Regions from separate parts of the Homo sapiens genome. Here all the other regions are linked to region 1. The links are contacts of gene promoters, found by promoter capture Hi-C in blood cells and fetal thymus (Javierre and others, 2016). All regions are on one chromosome and are shown on one strand. Each heading gives the region's core, a stretch centred on a gene start or on the middle of the fragment in contact. The rest is flanking DNA. Distances are from core to core; before and after follow the strand shown. Region 1 holds the start of NUP155 (nucleoporin 155). Region 2 has its middle 4.8 kb from the start of PAIP1. Region 3 overlaps C5orf34 (chromosome 5 open reading frame 34). Region 4 overlaps C5orf22 (chromosome 5 open reading frame 22). Region 5 holds the start of GOLPH3 (golgi phosphoprotein 3). Region 6 holds the start of MTMR12 (myotubularin related protein 12).

The links. Contacts are between HindIII fragments. The CHiCAGO score rates a contact against its expected background, and 5 or more counts as called.
Region 2: a contact is called between a fragment that was not itself captured here and the fragment with the promoter of NUP155 in region 1, in 1 of 17 cell types (activated CD4 T cells). The highest score is 7.4, in activated CD4 T cells.
Region 3: a contact is called between a fragment that was not itself captured here and the fragment with the promoter of NUP155 in region 1, in 1 of 17 cell types (total B cells). The highest score is 5.2, in total B cells.
Region 4: a contact is called between a fragment that was not itself captured here and the fragment with the promoter of NUP155 in region 1, in 1 of 17 cell types (total CD4 T cells). The highest score is 9.6, in total CD4 T cells.
Region 5: a contact is called between a fragment that was not itself captured here and the fragment with the promoter of NUP155 in region 1, in 2 of 17 cell types (total CD4 T cells and naive CD8 T cells). The highest score is 6.6, in total CD4 T cells.
Region 6: a contact is called between the fragment with the promoter of MTMR12 here and the fragment with the promoter of NUP155 in region 1, in 4 of 17 cell types (total B cells, total CD8 T cells, total CD4 T cells and 1 more). The highest score is 6.8, in total B cells.

Annotation. Positions count from the first base shown.
Region 1 is chr5:37,369,594-37,372,527 of GRCh38, forward strand. NUP155 (nucleoporin 155) reads right to left here and starts at 1,513. Exons shown (of 35, transcript NM_153485.3): 1 at 1,228-1,513. The coding sequence starts at 1,384. RefSeq lists enhancers at 1,186-1,295, 1,416-1,505. The HindIII fragment of the contact is 10,669 bases long and covers 1-2,523 here.
Region 2 is chr5:43,560,381-43,563,314 of GRCh38, forward strand. No RefSeq gene overlaps it. Among named protein-coding and RNA genes, the nearest start is that of PAIP1, 4.8 kb to the left of the region's middle. The HindIII fragment of the contact is 3,752 bases long and covers 1-2,934 here.
Region 3 is chr5:43,488,870-43,491,803 of GRCh38, forward strand. It overlaps C5orf34 (chromosome 5 open reading frame 34), which reads right to left. Exons shown (of 13, transcript NM_198566.4): 11 at 1,762-1,860. All of the region lies in intron 2 of C5orf34-AS1 (C5orf34 antisense RNA 1), which reads left to right. Among named protein-coding and RNA genes, the nearest start is that of C5orf34-AS1, 6.4 kb to the left of the region's middle. RefSeq lists an enhancer at 1-113. The HindIII fragment of the contact is 215 bases long and covers 1,395-1,609 here.
Region 4 is chr5:31,538,813-31,541,746 of GRCh38, forward strand. It overlaps C5orf22 (chromosome 5 open reading frame 22), which reads left to right. Exons shown (of 9, transcript NM_018356.3): 5 at 2,137-2,199; 6 at 2,469-2,590. Among named protein-coding and RNA genes, the nearest start is that of C5orf22, 8.0 kb to the left of the region's middle. The HindIII fragment of the contact is 5,751 bases long and covers 1-2,934 here.
Region 5 is chr5:32,171,510-32,174,443 of GRCh38, forward strand. GOLPH3 (golgi phosphoprotein 3) reads right to left here and starts at 2,810. Exons shown (of 4, transcript NM_022130.4): 1 at 2,301-2,810. The coding sequence starts at 2,525. RefSeq lists a silencer at 2,094-2,703. The HindIII fragment of the contact is 263 bases long and covers 1,554-1,816 here.
Region 6 is chr5:32,311,411-32,314,344 of GRCh38, forward strand. MTMR12 (myotubularin related protein 12) reads right to left here and starts at 1,529. Exons shown (of 16, transcript NM_001040446.3): 1 at 1,348-1,529. The coding sequence starts at 1,428. RefSeq lists silencers at 858-997, 1,068-1,857 and an enhancer at 1,948-1,997. The HindIII fragment of the contact is 10,159 bases long and covers 1-2,934 here.

The DNA of each region.
Region 1 (2,934 bases), core at 263-2,762:
TCAAGATGATAATTGCTAATAGGCCAATCAGGTATTATAAGACACGCTCATTGGTAAGTAGCTGTAGGGAGCAAATACTATCTTTGTTTCTATCATTTCTTTGATTACAAAGCTATCAATGATTTTTATAAATAATCAGAAGTGTTCTCGGTTTACACTGCACAAATTATCCTATTTAGATTACTTTGGTTCTTGCTCACCAACAATCTTTTCTTTCTTACACTTCGCTGGTTTTCTCCAAATTCCATCTCACAAAGGGGTCACTTTTTCTAGCAACTGATGTAATTCCATAAGCCGTGGGGAGCTGGTTATAACTTAAAACTGTTAAACAAATTACTTTCCAGTCACCTATATTGTCAACACATATTCTGCCTTACTCTCCCTGTACATAAGCACTGTGATTTCCCTGTTCTCTTTCTTTATTCCACTGGTAGTTCTTTTAAGATCCTCCAGCATTTCATAACACACATCTCTACACATAATAAAGCGTTTCTTGGCCGGGTGCAGTGGCTTGCGCCTGTAATCCCAGCACTTTGGGAGGCCGAGGCGGGCGGATCACTTGAGGTCAGAGTTCGTGACCAGCCAGGCCAATATGGTGAAACCCCGTCTCTACTTAAAAAACACAAAAATTAGCCGGGCTTGGTGGCAGGCGCCTGTAATCTCAGCTACTTGGGAGTCTGAGGCAGAAGAATCGCTTGAACCCAGGAGGCGGAGGTTGCAATGAGCCGAGATCGCGCCATTGCACTTCAGCCTGGGCGAAGAGGGAACCGCTCCGTCTCAATAAATAAACAAATAAATATAAAGCAAAGCGTATCTTTAAGATAACATGCTAAATTTCCAAATTAACTTCGTTTGCTCTTACGATCTACTCAAACACTAACAGGAGAAATGAACAAATTTGGGACTTGGATCTGGAGATGCTTCTCATATGGCCTTAGCCATAAGCACTTGAGAGCGGCGAGAAGCTCATTAAGGTTGAGGTCTTTGCCTCTTTCTGCTTCAACTGGGAGCTTGCTCTTCACTCTTGCCCTCTCAAGTATCTACAATGAAGAAAGTGAGGAAAGGAAAAAACCTGAAAAGAAGCTGCTTGCTGTTCTCCAAAAATGCAGCCAACAGTGCCATAAATCTCAGCATATCCTCGCCGGGACCAACGCTGGGGATAAGTAGCAAATTAGGAAGTCAGGCGAGAGTCCTTTAGGTTGAGAAAGCAGGGTCACTATCACTCACTTGGGGCAGACACCATAAGCAGCTCGGAAAGGTCCGGGTACATGCGGTCCTCTTGCAACTGACGGTCGATGAGCCGTCCAGCATTTTCCAGAGCTTCCTGCAGGGCTGCGGCAGATGTAGAGGCCGGCATCGCCGCGCCCAACAAAGAAGACGGCATCTCGGAAATCGTAGACACCAGGGTCCAGAAAAAGTCAAAAACCAAGGAGAAACAAGAAAAGATCCAAGAAGTTAGCTTAGATCCGCCGCCTAGGGCGCGCGCGCCAAACGAGCGCCTTGGCGCCTCGACATGACGCACTTCCGCTTCATCCGGTGGGGAACTGGAAGACGCCGTTCTGGCCTGGGAAGAGGAAGCTGTTGGGAGGGGGCTAGAGGTTGTGGGTGGAGCTAGGAGGCTGCTGATGCTTTCGAGGGGGTTGAGGGTTTTGGGGTGTGGCAGGGTAAAATTAGGGTAGGTTATTTAGGGAAGGGAGGGAGGGAAAGGAAGGGAAGGATAAAGGGGAGGGAACAGGGAAGGAGAGGGGCGGGATGGGGTTGGATAGGGTGAGGAGGAAGGAGGGAGGAGGGATACGGTAGGTGGGAGCTAGGTCGTGTGTCTGGCCTAGGAGGTTGGTCAGGTTCCGTTGGTTTAAGCGCGTGCTCGACCTGAGTCTTGGAACTTCCCGCGTCGGTATCCGCTAACTGCAGCTATATGAGTTCGCGCATGAGCGCGCAGTTTGGTTCTCCAAGTAACTGCTTTTGTGAGAGTAGTTAAGAATTGGTAGGTCGCTGTCACAGAGAGGGATATAAACCAGTATCTCACTATATTCTTCGCGGGCTTCAGTGTAAATTAGAATTCATCAGGCTTTTCCATTTGCGTGTCGCTGTCTTTTGACTTTGTTGCCCCTTAGTATAAAATACGTGTTTAAGAAGAAGCTGAGTGCAGGTGGACCGCTGCCGTGCTTTTTATCGTGGCAGAGATAGCAGACAGTTCTAATTCATCTTTCCATTCCCAGCGCTAGTATAGGAACTCGTATGAGATAGGAACCCAAGAGTTCATACAATCCTAAGAAACTGAATACTTGCCTTGTGCCTGGTGCTGGGACTATCAAACTAACACAGTGTTTCCTGTCCTTAAGGTGCTTCAAGCAGAGACAAAGGGCTTCATTATAATTTTTCTATTTGGATAGGTATAAACTATAGCAGGATAGGAGAAAGCAGAGAGGTAAAAGAGGCTTCATTTACTACAGAAGGCAACCTGAGTGGGTAAATCAAAGCACTTTTTAGAAAGCTGCTCTTATTTAGAATCTCACCTAAGAAAGCTTCCAGTTATGTTCTTCAGAATTTCACAAATCAATAACTGAATTACTCTAAATTGGTCTTTTGCTATTTGAATTACATTTTTACTCCCTCAAAGACTTGACTACATTTCTGAAAATTGAAAGTTCTTTGATGTTACCAATCTACACTTAAAATTTGACATAGCCAATATACCAAGAAAAACTGGATTTTTTATCATTGGTATATAGATAGGCAGTTGGGTCTCTAGCTGTGAGTTTACTTTATTTGGTAGACCATAGATTGAAAAGTGGTGGTCTGGCACCGAGTTTGTTTTTAATTTGAGACAAAATACACAAAGTTTTCAACTCCATAAATTGGAAGATTCAACAACGTTGCTGTGATATTCCTGCATAGAAGTAAAGCTCCCCAAAGTGTAATCTAACTAACTTA
Region 2 (2,934 bases), core at 237-2,736, 6.2 Mb after region 1:
CAAGGAGTTTCCCCAAGAGCTGGTTGTTGAAAAGAGCCTGGCACACTCCCCCTGTCTCATGCTTCCTCTCTTGCCATGTAATCTCTGCACACTGTCTCCCCTTCACTTTCTGCCATGCATAGAAGCAGGCTGAAGCCCTCACCAGAAGCAGATGTTGGTGCCATGCTTCTAGTACAGCCTGCAGAATAGTGAGCCAAATGAAACCCTTTTCTTTATAAATTACCCAGCCTCAGCTATTCCTTTATAGCAACAAAAATGGATGAAGGCACCACATATTTGACAAAAGACTTGTATCTAGAATATATAAAGTACTCTCAGAACTCAACTGTATTGAGAGTACTATAGCCAGGTGCGATCCCAGCACTATGGGAGGCTGAGGCGGACAGATTACCTGAGGTCAGGAGTTCGAGACCAACCTGGACAACATGTGAAACCCCGTCTCTACTAAAAATACAAAAATTAGCAGGCATGGTGATGCGTGCTTGTAATCCCAGCTACTTGGGAGGCTGAGGCAGGGGAATCGCTTGAACCCGGGAGGCAGAGGTTGCAGTGAGCCGAGATTGCACCACTGCACTCCAGCCTGGGTTGAGCGTGACTCCGTCTGAAAAAAACCCAAACAAACAAAACACCTAACTCAACTGTAAAAGGACAGTTCAGTTAGAAAAGGGCCAAACATAAATGAAAGAACACTTCACTGAAGGGAATATACAGATAGCATAAGCCTATGAAAAATGTTCAACATAATTAGCCAGTAGGAAAATTTTTTTAAAACCACTGAGATTTCACTACCTACTTATTCGAATAGCTTAAATAAACAATAGTGACAATGCAAATTCAAGGATGTAGAGAAACTAGGAACTGTGTTGCTCATACATTGCTGGTGAGAATGTAAAATGCTATAGTCACTTTAGAAAACAGTTTCTTTAAAAAACTCTACATATTAAGTACTGTACTACCTAGCAATTGCACTGCTGGACATTTCTCACAGAGAATTAAGATTTATATTCACATAAAATCCTGTACCCAAATATTTAGAGTGGCATCATTAATAAGAGCCCCAAATTAGAAAGAACCCAAATATCCTTTGATGAATAGTTAAACTGTGGTACATTCATACCACAGAATGCTACTCAGCAAAAAAAAGGAACAACTGCTCATATAAGAATGTTGATGGATCTCAAGGGAATTATGCTGAACACAAAATTTCAATCTCAAGAGCAATTGTATGATTCAATTTATGACAAAATTATGAAGATGGAGAGCAGATTTGTGGTTGCCAGGGGTTAAGGAGGGAGTGGAATTTAGAGGCAAGTAGATGGGGTTATTAAAAAAGTAGGTAGCATGAGAAAAACCTTGTGATGGAACTATTTTGTTCTTTACTATAATGATGGTCACATAAGTCTATACATGTGATAACATTGCATAGAAATAAGTGTGCACACATACACACACATACACACATGTGCATATAAAACTAAGGTTGGTGAACTGTATCACTTATAGTTATACAAGATGTTACTATTGGGGGAAACAAGGTGAAGAGTAAACAAGTTCTCTCTGTATTATTTCTTACAATTGCATGTGAATCTACAACTAAGTTTTAGAAACCTAACATATAAATAAACTTCGTTCCATGTTATTCCATCACTCCTAATTCTCTCCTAGCTAGTTCAGTTCACTCCTTTCTGCACAAATCATCATGGCAACTTACATATCATTATAAATGAGTGGGGGCATCATTAAGAGAGAAAAAAATTAGCTGATGCATTTGTCCTTGTGTTTCTCATCTGTGTAAATTATCTTCCTCTGGCCACTATTAAAAGTAACCCCAGGCAGTCAGCTCTTGAGACTCCCATCTGGATTAGGGCCCCAATTCATCTTAGAGTCTAAGATAGCCAGGAATGCTGCTTGGAATCTCCTCAATATCTACTGATACTTGTTTAACGTTGATCTCTTAGCTGTACTGTAAATTCCACGAGGCTAATGAAAGAAACCAAAATATTTCACCTTGACATAGTTCAAGATGGTTATTTGGATGGGCTGAAAATATAAGAGTAGCTAAAAACCTGCCTTTTTTGGGGAAGATTGGATCTGTAGAGACAACTTGCATTGATGCAGTGAGGCTTTCTCTGAGACCCTCACTTGTCCCATCTAGGAAAGATTAACTGAGACTCTGATACCTTTAAAGGTTTATAAACATTCTCTCTGAGGACTGCTACCTGTGAGATTTCATCTACATAATAAGACCACCTTTGCTAGCCAGTTCTCCTCTTCTCTCTCTCTCTCCCCTACCGTGTCTTGCTACTATAACCGATTTAACACCATAATCTGTTTTTGGCTATGTGCTGGGATTCCTCTCTTTCTGTAACTTCAAGATAGTAAGTATATCAGCTTCTGTACCCCATTTGGGTAATTACTTTCTGAGTCTCCTCTGAGCATAGTCATTTCTTTTTTTTTTTTTTTTGAGACGGAGTCTCGCTGTGTCACCCAGGCTAGAGTGCAATGGCATGATTTCGGTTCACTGCGACCTCCGCCTCCCTGGGTTCAGTGATTCTCCTGCCTCAGCCTCCCAAGTGGCTGGGATTACAGGCACACGTCACCACGCCCGGCTAATTTTTGTATTTTTAGTATAAACGGGGTTTCACCATATTGGCCAGGCTGGTCTCGAACTCCTGACCTTGTGATCCACCTGCCTCGGCCTCCCAAAGTGCTGGGATTACAGGCGTGAGCCACCGTGCCCGGCCTCACAGTCATTTCTTTTAATATATCTTTTGTCAGTTGATTTTTCAGTAAAACTTTAGAGAGCAAAGGGGAAGTTATTCTTTGGCCCCCGCAATAGGAATTCATTCATTCACTTGTTAATTCAACAAATACTGATTTTGTGTCTACTTCATGCCAGCAGTGTTCCAGGTGCTGAGGATATGCAGGGGTGTG
Region 3 (2,934 bases), core at 252-2,751, 6.1 Mb after region 1:
TCACCAGAAAAATCTTCACAGTTCGTAGTAGGTTGTGTGACTTGTCTGCTTTATTGGCTTTACTACAACAGATCACATGCACCTCCCTGTCAGCTTGTACTCTTTCCCTTGTACTCCAGCCTATGGATGGAGAATGAAAAGAAATATTTCATAATTTTAAACACCTGTGGCAAAGAACTTGGATACAACTTACCCCAACAACCAGCTGATTGTTCATTATTGCAAAATATCTTTTTTTTTTTAAACCCAACGCATTTTTCTGGATGTAAGAAACAATACAACCTTTATTGTTATTGCTCTCATAATGAACGAACTTTTTATGAAACGTACTATTTGTTGACTAAAAAGTTGAATTAATAAGCTAATAATGGAGGGTGTGGCGGAAAAAAAATACTAGAATACAACTTAGGTAGCTTTTTATTGTACAATCTTGTTTCTTCCTTCAACCTACCCTCTTTGATAAGAAAAACCGAAGTGGAGATACCTAAGGCTTTATAGGGGGAATGGAGCTACTCCTCAATTTCTTTATCTTGCCTCTGCTGTTCCTAGTTGCTTTCACCTTTAGCTACTATCACCAATCTCTACTTGCAGTTTTTAGTGTGTATTGACAGCCTCTTCTCAGCTTTCAAATAAAAAGGCTGATGATATTTTACAAACTGCCAGCTAAGCAATGGTGAAGTGATGGTTTTATAGACAAGTACAATTTTCCTTCCATCACAATTGTTTTTTGCTAGTTACTTTAGCAACTTTTCTGCTTCCAAACAGGCTACAGCTAAAGGATGAGGGATCTGCAAAGCTGGATCCTTAAGCTACCTGAGATATTCAAATAACGCTTACTGATATGATTTGATTTGTTCTAAGAAAGGGCTTAGGAAAAGGTAACAAAAATTGGCTTAATGTTTACATTTTGTTTCACTACACTATGTTAGGTCACCTCACAAAACTTACTTAAAAAGCTTCCCAAATTGTTCCTGGTATCCCTGTCTTCCCATATATTCAGGTTAGACTCTCAGTGACACTAATCTTCTAATGACCTTTCTTCCTATCATTTTTCCATTTAGGACTTTCTAATTCCATCAGGTCTGAACTCCTATTTATTATAAGATCCATTCCTAGCCCTCAAAACTCATACTATATACTAATAGATAGCATATGTTCCATAAAAACTATCTTCTATCTCCACAGGCTAAAATATCCTTTTTACTTCTGCCCTTATTTCCTCCCTAAAATGTCTTATATTTTCACAGAAAGTTCCCTTGAAGCCCAGTTCTAGTACCCTGCACACTGAAAAGCACACAGGAGGGACTAAAATACTTGCTTTATTTGATCTGCCAGTTAATTTGGGAGAAGTAACTAATATGACAGAAATTATTTAAAAATCAATGTTTTCTGAAAGCTTATGTTATTAAACCTTTTATTTCCTTCAACATTACTAAAAATTTAAGAATCCCCTTTAAATTTTTCCATAAAGTTTTCAGGATGAATTTGTCACATAAAAAGAGCCACTCATTTTCATGTTAAGTTTTCAATGCAAGGTTTTCTTACCTTTAGGTAAAATAGAATATGATGAAATGTAATAAATTAGATGTCTGATTAGAAATTATTTTCAAGCTTAAGCTATCAAAAATACTTTAGGAGTTAAACATATTCAAAACTAAGAAAGTTTTTTTGGGGAAAAAAGTCTCAGTTTACCATTTGACATTTTAATTTTTTTTAAAGTATTAGCTCTTCTAAACAGATTTAAGTTTAAAAGAAAAATACCAATTTTCTTGGAGAACAGAAGATGACGAATGAGTGGGCATCTCTCTGGGACTAGTCTGGGTCAGTCTCCTGCACCATGATGTTACTGTTGTCACATATCTAAAGTGAATACATTAAAAGAAATACTTGAAAAATGAACTTGAATACATTATAAAATTATAAACAAATGTAAAAATAAGACAATTTGGGAAAAAAGGATAAAGAAAAAATGTTAAAGTGAAGCATTTACTGGGCAATTCTCAAAATATTTTTCACTGGTCATAGAAAAGCCAAATTTTTTCCATTATTCATCAAGAATAAAATGATTTACTTATATTTGTGATTAATACAAGTGACATTTAAGAATCAAAATAAAGGCGATATTTGGATTTCATTTAAAGTTCAATTTTAAATGTTCTAATTCTTTTAGTTTTTCAAAGTAAAATGCGTTTAAGTTTTATCAAAAAATATTCACACAAAATAAGACTGACTGAGCATTTGCTTACTAAAATTTAAACCAAAAAACACCTGCTAATGCATATACACATATGCTTGTATGCATATGTGTAATTATATGTAACTTACTACATATCTAAAACAAGTATCAAGTTTAATAAAATGAATGATCTGAAATGATTGGCTGAATCAATAGAAATGTTTGCTAAAGAAACTATCTTTTTTGAGGCAAATCATTAATAGCAATGAATGAGCACTTAGACTGAAACACAATAAAACCCAACAGAAAAATACATTCAAGAGGTAACAAAAAGCTATTATTTTGTGAATATTCTCAAGTGAAATCACTAAAATGTGAAGACTATCACAAGATTTACTGTAATAAATTAGATAAACCAAAAGAAAAAAAATTCATAAAAAGCTGAAGACTCTTCCCCATTTTAAGATAATCATTGCGTAATTTTATCCACTTTATAGAAATATACAGAATTTCAGTTATTTGTGGTTGCAAATCTTATTTCAAATTGGCTAGAGGATTAGTTAATTGTTAACACAGCTGACCATATCCAACCTCCACAGCAAATCAGTATGTCTATAACACATTTCATTTTGAAAAGTTACTTGAATACAAATGAAATGATTAAAGCTGACCTGAAGGCCGGGCATGGTGGCTCATGCCTGTAATCTCAGCACTTTGGGAGGCCAAGGTGGGCAGATCACCTGAGGTCGGGAGTTCAA
Region 4 (2,934 bases), core at 244-2,743, 5.8 Mb before region 1:
CTACTAATACCCTTTTCTGTTGTTTTCTAAACCTTTTAAAGTTGTATATACCATTCTTAACTTGAGGGCCATACACAAACAGGCTATAGGCTGTGGATTGCCAACTCCTGCTCTAGATAGTATTCATTATTTTGCATTTATTAATTGGGGTAATGTATACATGGGTGATGGATAAAAATTAAGTCATACAGTACAGGTATATACAGTCAGCCCTCTGTATCCGTGGGTTCTGTATTCCTGGATTTAACCAGCCACAGATAGGAAATATTCAGAAAAAATAAAAAACAACTAGAAATAACAATACAAGAGTAAAAAATAATACAAATAAAAAACAATACAGTATAACAACTATTTACATAGGATTTACACTGTATTAGATACCACAAGTAATTTAGAGATGACTTAAAGTATATGAGAGGGTATGCATATGTTATATGCAAATACTACACTATTTTATGTCAGGGACTTGAGCATCCACAGATTTTGGTATCCACAGGAGGTCCCAGAACCAATCCCCCACGGATACCAAGGGACAAGTGTACATTGAAAAACAGCACTCTCTTATCCCCATTCCCTCAGTTCTTTGCTTCAGAAACAAATACTGTGATCAGTTTCTTGTGTATCTTTCCAGCGATATTCTATATATAAATCCTGTGTAACAGATTATTCCTTAAACAGTGATGTGCCTGATTACTCACCTAAATATTTGTAATAAATATTTGTAATGAAAGTTTCTAGAAGGTTACATAAGGAATTCAGTGGCAGTTATTCCTTTTAGAGTGCTATTAGGAAACCTGGGAACACAAGGATTTGTATAGCCTAAATACCCTTTGGTACAATGGACTTTTTAAAAAGCATATATTAAACTTTATTATTTAGTAGCAATTTTTTAAATATCATTAGGAAAGACAGATGTTCATCTTTTTTTTTTTCTTAAGAGCATGTTCAGGCTGGGCATGGTGGCTCATGCGTATAATCCCAGCACTTTGGGAGGCCAAAGCAGGAGGACCACTTGAGCCAAGGAGTTTGAGAACAGCGTAGGCAACGTAGCAAGACCCCATCTCTATTAAAAAAAAATTTTTTTTTTAATTTAGCCAGGCATAGTGGCACGTGCCTGTGGTCCAGCTACTCAGGAGGCTGAGATGGGAGGATCACTTGAGCCTGGGAGGTCAAGGCTGCAGTGAGTCGTGATCGCACCCCTGCACTCCAGCCTGGGTGACAGCGAGACCCCATCTCATAAAAAAGAAGCATGTTCAAAAGTTAGGGGAGTTAAGTTCTGTTGTTAACTCTACTGCTTATTAGCTATATGATCTTAGGAAAATTACTTAACCTTTCCGACCCATAGTTTCTTCAAGTATCAAATCAGAATAATAATCATACCCAACTCAGGATTGTTATAATGAATAAAGCACTGAAGATATGCCACAACATTGTGCTTAATGAATTTTAGCCCTTGGGTATAACCTTTTCCTGAGAATACTCCTAAATAGGATTACTGGGGCCAGGTGTACCCACCTATATAATGGATCCATGTAGCTGTGCTAAACAAGGGGAAACATTATCCTACAAAGTTTGTATAGCAAGCCTCTTTCTCCCCTTGTGTGGTGCCTCCTGACCGAGGTTCTATGTCTTTGACATTCTACCTCCAGTATTGCCTTTGTACTTCAGAGATCTCTTCTGTTGTTAGAGAAATGGCTGCAAAGTGAACATAGGGAGTTCTTTGTTGTTGTTATTAAAGATATGTATATTTCCTGTAAACAGCTAAGTCTGTTTAGATCCTAGGACATGGCATTTATATAGCAGAATATTATTTAAAATATTTTCATCTCGTGACCCATTAGCCACCAAGTATGCTTCCTTAGGTAATTTTTACATAGTAGTACCATGCCCAGCTGGATAGAGTTGCCTTGAAGAAGTGATATTTACAATAAAACAAAATTTTACAATATTTACAATAAAATTATTACAATAAAAATCTAAAGTATACATTTTGCCTGATTCTCCCATACATACCTTTAAATAATTATCTAAGATGTTCTTGTATCACAAGGAAGGTTGTCTCTTCCTTAAAGCATATCATTAAAAAATTTTAACTTTTTTTTTTCTGGTATGTGGATTTTTTGTTTTGTTTTCCAGGAAGAGTACAAAATCTTACAAGAGCTGTACCAATTTAAGAAACCTGGCACCAACCTAACAGAGGTATCCTCCATTTGTTTCTTTGGGGTTTTATTCATTTATCATATAACTAATAATATCTTGCAAATTACCACAGTGATCTCAAAGACTGCTCAAAGTGTGTGTGTGTGTGTGTGTGTGTGTGTGTGTGTGTGTGTGTGTATTGGCGAAGCCCATGGTTAGTACTTGAAAATTATGTTTTAACTAATAGAGCCAAGTTTTTTTTGTAATGGGATGTTGCTTGTTTTTTGAAAGAATAACTATATAATCTCAGCTTTTCAATGTATTTAAAGGAAGATTTGGTAGATATTGTTGATACTCGAATTCATCAATTAGAGGATTTAGAAGCCACTTTCGCTGATTTGTGTGATGGTGATGATGAAGAAACGGTACAGAGATGGGCTTCAAACCCTGGGTAAGACTCTCAAACATTTTTTTCCCCCAACTCTACTAACTTTCAGTCCTAGATATGTTCCTAAATTTGCAAGATACATTGCTTTTAAAAAAGTAGTATTCAGCTACTTGGGACACTGAGGCAGGAGAGGACCACTTGAGGCCAGGAGTTCCAGACCAGCCTGGGTAATGTAACAAGACCCTGTCTCTAAAAAAAGGTTTTTTAATTAGCCAGATATGGTGGCACCTACCTGTAGCCACTACAGCCACTGCTCCCAGCTACTTGGGAGGCTGAAGTGGGAGGATTGCTTGGGCCAAGGAGTTTGAGGCTGTAGTGGGCTGTGATCATGCCACTGCACTCTACCC
Region 5 (2,934 bases), core at 435-2,934, 5.2 Mb before region 1:
TGTTTTCCACCGAGTTTTATCCACACGGAAAACTCTCAAAAACTATAAACCAAAATGTTCACTCAGGAATATGTTTTAATTTTGCTTTTCTTTTTTTTTGTATTTTCTAAAATGTCTATAATAATGTTATTTTTGTCCAAAAAGAAAAATGTTTATGGCCGGGCGTGGTGGCTCAAACCTGTAATCTCAGCACTTTGGGAGGCCGAGGCAAGTGGATCACTTGAGGTCAGGAGTTCAAAAGCAGCCTGACAAACATGGTGAAACCCCGTCTCTACTAAAAATAAAAACATTAGCAGGGCGTGGTGGTGCATGCCTGTAATCCCAGCTACTTGGGAGGCTGAGGCAGGAGAATCGCTTGAACCCGGGAGGGGGAGGTTGCAGTGAGCCCAGATGGCGCCACTGCACTCCAGGCCTGGGCGACAGAGCGAGATTCCGTCTAAAAAAAGAAAAAAAAAAAGACAAATGTTTATAATCAAGATTTCCAATTTTGAAACCTAAAGTTGAATATTTTCTAAAAATTACATTACTAGGACGCTATACCCCTAGTTTACTTTTTCATCCAAAGAACAAGGAACTGCACATACAGCCTGCTTTATCATCACAACTCAATAATTAAACAGGTACAGCAGCCCTTTCACAGCCAGAGGAACATCAACTTTTTTCAAGGTTACTGTTATTAAAACCTGAGAAATGGGAAACCAAGATATGGCAAATGCCCCAGACGTATCTATCAAGCTAACCGTTAGTTCATTAGATTTCTAAATAAGAAAGGTCCATAAACGGTCCATATAAAACTCGCCTATATCTAGTAAGTTTCAGTGACCAAGAAAGATTACGTTGTTTTGTAAGACTTTTTTTTTTTTTTTGCCCACCTTCCTGAATTTGGAAAACTTTCTTAAAATCAGGCCTGGGCGCGGTGGCTCAAGCTTGTAATTTCAGCACTTTGGGAGGCCGAGGCAGGCGGATCACTAGGTCAAGAGATCGAGACCATCCTGGCCAACATGGTGAAACCCCGTCTCTACTAAAGGTATGAAAATTAGCTGGGCATGGCGGCGCACGTCTGTAGTCCCGGCTACTCGGGAGGCTGAGGCAGGAAAATCGCTTGAACCCGGGAGGCGGAGTTTGCAGTGAGTGGAGATCGCGCCACTGCACTCCAGCCTGGGCGACAAACTGAGGCTCCGTCTCAAAAACAAAACAAAACAAAAACACAAAATTAGCCGGGCATGGTGGCGCATGCCTGCCTCAGGAGGCTGAGGCAGGAGAATCGCTTGAACCCGGGAGGCGGAGATTTCGGTAAGCCGAGATCGCGGCATTGCACTCCAGCCTGGGCAACAAGAGCGAAACTCCGTCTCCACATAAATAAATAATCATTTTTGTAGGCAAATATAACAAATACAGCAAAACGTCATAGAATCTAGAAAGAGTATATATGCATATGTATCTATCACTTTTTCAACTTTTCTGTGTGTGAAAATTTTGGACACTGAAGTGAAAATAAACGCTTTCAAAGTCAGAATACAAAGAATTATCTATTGCAACTTCAACCCACCTGAAGCTTTGAGGCCTCTGATCAACTCACAAACCTACATTTCAAGCACTCGATGAAAAAGCCCTTTCTTAAGACGGCAAGACTTTGAGATTCATCAACTGATAAAATATAAAAGCGATACTAAAAATAATCTCTCACCTAATGTAAGTTCACCTAGAAAGTCATTTACCAGGAGGTTTCATGAGAAACTTAACTTAACTTTACTCAGTAAAAGAGCTTTTCCCTCTATTACCACTTCGCCTACGTTTTTCGTAATTCCCAACAGTAAGCTTTAACTGAAGAAGAAGAAAAAAAAAACATCCCCAGCAAGCAGATCCGGGCACCCCTCCCAGGTCCTAAAGCCTGCAAAAACCCAAAGAGTTCGTGGCGCTGGTGGCTCCAGCTGTTAGTTTCCCGGGCAGTCTCCGGGTTGGATTTGCACCCTGGGGTCTACACGGGTTAAAAACGCGGAAAAAAGGCGACGAAGAAATACAAACTGCCAGGGTGTCGAAATGAAAGGAGCGACTGTGAAAGGGGTAAGGAAAAATCCAAGCCATCTCTACGGGGAGGATCCAGAAAGCACCAGCCGCGCCAGGGGGTCAACCAACTCCGACACCGCTCGGCGTCAGCTGGGCGCCACCAGGCGCGGACTTCGGAGCGAGGGCAGGTGCGCGGGCCGGAAGCCTCGGGCGCTCACCTGGCACCTACCTGGAGCTCACCTGGCGCCCGGGCCCCGCGCCGCCGCCCCCCGCCCAGCCCGCCGCGCCCGCACCTCGCGGTCCTTGAGGCCCAGCAGGAGCACTTCCTCCATCAGGGTCAGCCGCGTTTCCTTGGAGTCGCCCTTGTCGTCGTCGTCCTGCTCGTCGCGGCGGCTCTGCGCGTCGTCCTCGCTGCTGCCGGCGCCGCCGCCCGCCGCCCGCTCCTTGTCGGCGGCGTTGCGGGAGGCCTCGGTGCGCCGCTGCACCAGGCCGGAGCTGCGCTGGGTCAGCGAGGTCATGGCTCCCGCCGAGGCGCCGAGCCGGGCCGAGAGGGTCGCAGGACCGACCGGGTCGCCCTCCTCCTCCCCGCGCGGCCTCCGATCCGGGTTTCCGTGTTAAATCCGGACGCCGGGGCGACGTCCGTCGGCAGCAGGGCCGGGGGCAGTCATGAGGAAACAGGTCAGGGCGAAGCGGGCTGGCCGGGCGTCGGCGGGGCAGGAGAGGAGCGCCTTCCTGCCTGTGGCCGCAGTCCCCGAAACACCCCGAGCTCCAAGGCGGAGGCGGCGGCGGCGCCTTTCCAATATGGCGGCCCCGGCTGACGTCACCGGAGGATGTGGCAGAGTCGGCGCGGGAGAGCTGGGCCGGGAGGCGCCGGAAGCGGCGGCCGGGGATCCGCTGCCACTGCAGCCTACACCCTTCCCGGCCCTC
Region 6 (2,934 bases), core at 279-2,778, 5.1 Mb before region 1:
CACATATCTTGAATTTAAAGATACATATGCAAATGCCTCAGGCCCCAGGTGGTCTTTACGGAAGCAGTCCCTGATCAGATCTCTCATCCACAGCCCACGTGCTTCTGCATTACAGAGGTGGGAAGACATCTGCAACAAATTTGGCGGTGCTTCTGCACTTCTGCTGGAGAGAAGGGCAGAAAAAAACCTTTACAGATGCAAAACAAGAAGGCTTCTCATTAGGCATTTGGATTAAGAACTATTGCTCAAGAAGCCCTGAGCAAGGCCTACAAGTTCTGATCTCTCTAACCTCCTCTCCTATGACTGTCCCCCTTGTCCATGGGCCTCTGCCATGCTGGCTTCCTTGACGCTCCGCCAACCCTTCAGACACACTCCCACCTCACGACCTTCCCGGGGGCTGTTCCCTCTACCTGGACGACTCTTCTCTCAGACCTCTCGTATCTTCAAGTCTCGGCTCAAATGCCACCTTTGCGAGGAGGAAAAAGATTTCTTTTCTTTCCCATGATATTTATCACCTCCTACTACACCGTATAATTTACTTAATTATCTATAATTCACCCCGTTTCTCCTTTCCCCCTCAAATAAGCTCCAGGAATGCAGAGATCTCTGTCCTGTTCACTGATGTCTATCACAAGCACTTAGTGCCTGACACACAGTAGGAGCTCGAGAAGTATTTTCTGAATGAATGAACAAATTTCTTGACCTGAAGATTCAGAAGAGTAAGAAGTGGGTGGAAAGGATGATGGTGAGGGGATGAGGAGAAAGAAGCGACAGCGGAGAATTCCCAAGGGAGAGACAAGCAGAGACTGGCTGAGGCCAGGCCGACCCCCTTTTCTCCCCGCAGCGCTGACGGGAGGCGGACGTAGGTGCAGGGCATCCCGCCAGCCGCACCCGAGGCACTCAGACGCAGGCAGCGGAGGCCGGCGGGCTTCTGGGCTCACTGAGAAAGTCCAGAGGCAGGACGGACCCACGCGGGCTCCGAGCAGGCCCCGTTGGGGGCTCCGACCCACGGCCCTACCCCTCCCAGCAGTGCCCACAACCCCAGGTCCTCTCCAGAATCCCCAGGGGCGTTCCGGGCCGCAATCCCTTCTCGGCTCGGGCCCCTCCACCAGCCTCCAGCGCTCGGGCCCTGCGCTCAGGCACCTGCCTGCCTGCGCCGGGGTCCCCATTCCGGCCCGCGCGGAGGCCCCAGCGCGCTCCTGCGGCCTCAGCCCGCCTGGCTGCCCCGTCGCCCGGCACAAGGGCAGGAAGCGCTCCGCGGCGCTCCCCGCTGCAAGGAAGGGGCTCCCGGCGCCCCTCGCCCCGGCCGCCCCTGCCCGACGCCCCGCCTGCGCGGCGCCCCCTCACCTCAGGGCGTACGTACGACACGAAGGAGGGCTTGGGGGCCTTGGTGCCGCCGCCACCGCCGACTACTCCTTTCCCCAGCATACCGCCGCCCTGGGAAGCAGCGACGCGCGGACGCAGAGGCGGCGGCTCGGGCTCCAGCTGGGGCAGCAGCGGCGGCCACCAGCACTAGCGGCTGGGGCTCCGCCCATCCCCAAGGCCGCGACCGCCGCGATGCCGCCCGCATCCGGCTCCGCCGCTGACACCGCTCGCCCCGCCCAGGCCCGTGGGCCCCGCCCATCCCGTGCGCGGGCCCAGAGAGCCGGGAGACCGCAACTGGAGGCCACGCCCCCCCATCACGTCAGGAGAGTTTGACCCGCCGAGATTCACCACCTTCCTGCGGCAGAGCCCGCCCTCATGCTTTCTCTGATTGGCCCGAGGCGCTGCCGGCCGAACCCCGCTCCCAACCCATTCTTGAGTGCACTTGGAGAGATGTTTCCTCCAACCAATCCAGAGAGCGTTCTCTCCGGACTTTCCAACGATTGGATGGCGAGGATAAAACCGTCGTCCAATGATCCTGCAGTCACCAAGTTGTCGTTAGCAGGGGTTCACGGCAGTCGTTTTCTTCCGTTTGCTTGTGTCTTTGGAATAAAACGTCCAAAAATGGGATGTATGGAATCTTGCTATAGGAGTTCCCAACTTACAGCGATGACGTTCAAGGTTTTTTATTTTATTATTATTTACTTTTGAGACGGAGTTTTGCTCTTGTCGCCCAGGCTGGAGTGCAATGGCGCGATCTCTGCTCATTGCAACCTCCGTCTCCCAGGTTCAAGCGATTCTCTTGCCTCAGCCTCCTGAGTAGCTGGGATTACAGGCGCCCGCCACTATATCCAGCTAATTTTGTGTGTGTGTGTGTGTGTGTGTGTGTGTGTCGTTCTGTCGCCCAGGCTTGAGTGCAATGGCGTAGTATAGGCTCACTGCAACCTCTGCCTCCCAGGTTCAAGCGATTCTCCTGCCTCAGCCTCCCGAGTAGCTGGGATTATAGGCGCCTGCCATCACACCCGGCTAATTTTTGTATTTTTAGTAGAGACGGGGTTTCACCATGTTGGCCAGGCTAGTCTCAAACCCCTAACCTCGTGATCCGCCCGCCTCAGCCTCCCAAAGTGTTGGGATTAGAGGCATGAGCCACCGCGCCATGCCGCTAATTTTTGTATTTTTAATGGAGACGGGGGTTTCACCATGTTGGCCAGGCTGGTCTCAAACTCCTGACTTCAGATGATCCACCCGCTTCGGCCTCCCGAAGTGCTGGGATTACAGGCGTGAGCCACCGCGCCCGACCTCAAGGTTTATTATTTTAAATGTAAACAAAAATGAGACAAACGATGACTCACGCCTCTAATCCCAGCACTTTGGGAGGCCGAGGCGGGTGGATCATCTGAAGTCAGGAGTTTGAGACCAGCCTGGCCAACATGGAGAAACCCTATCTCTACTAAAAATACAAAAATTAGCCTGGTGTGGTGGCGGGCGCCTGTAATCCCAGCTACTCGGGAGGCTGAGGCACGAGAATCGCTTGAACCAAGGTTGCAGTGAGCCAGGATCGCGCCACTGCAC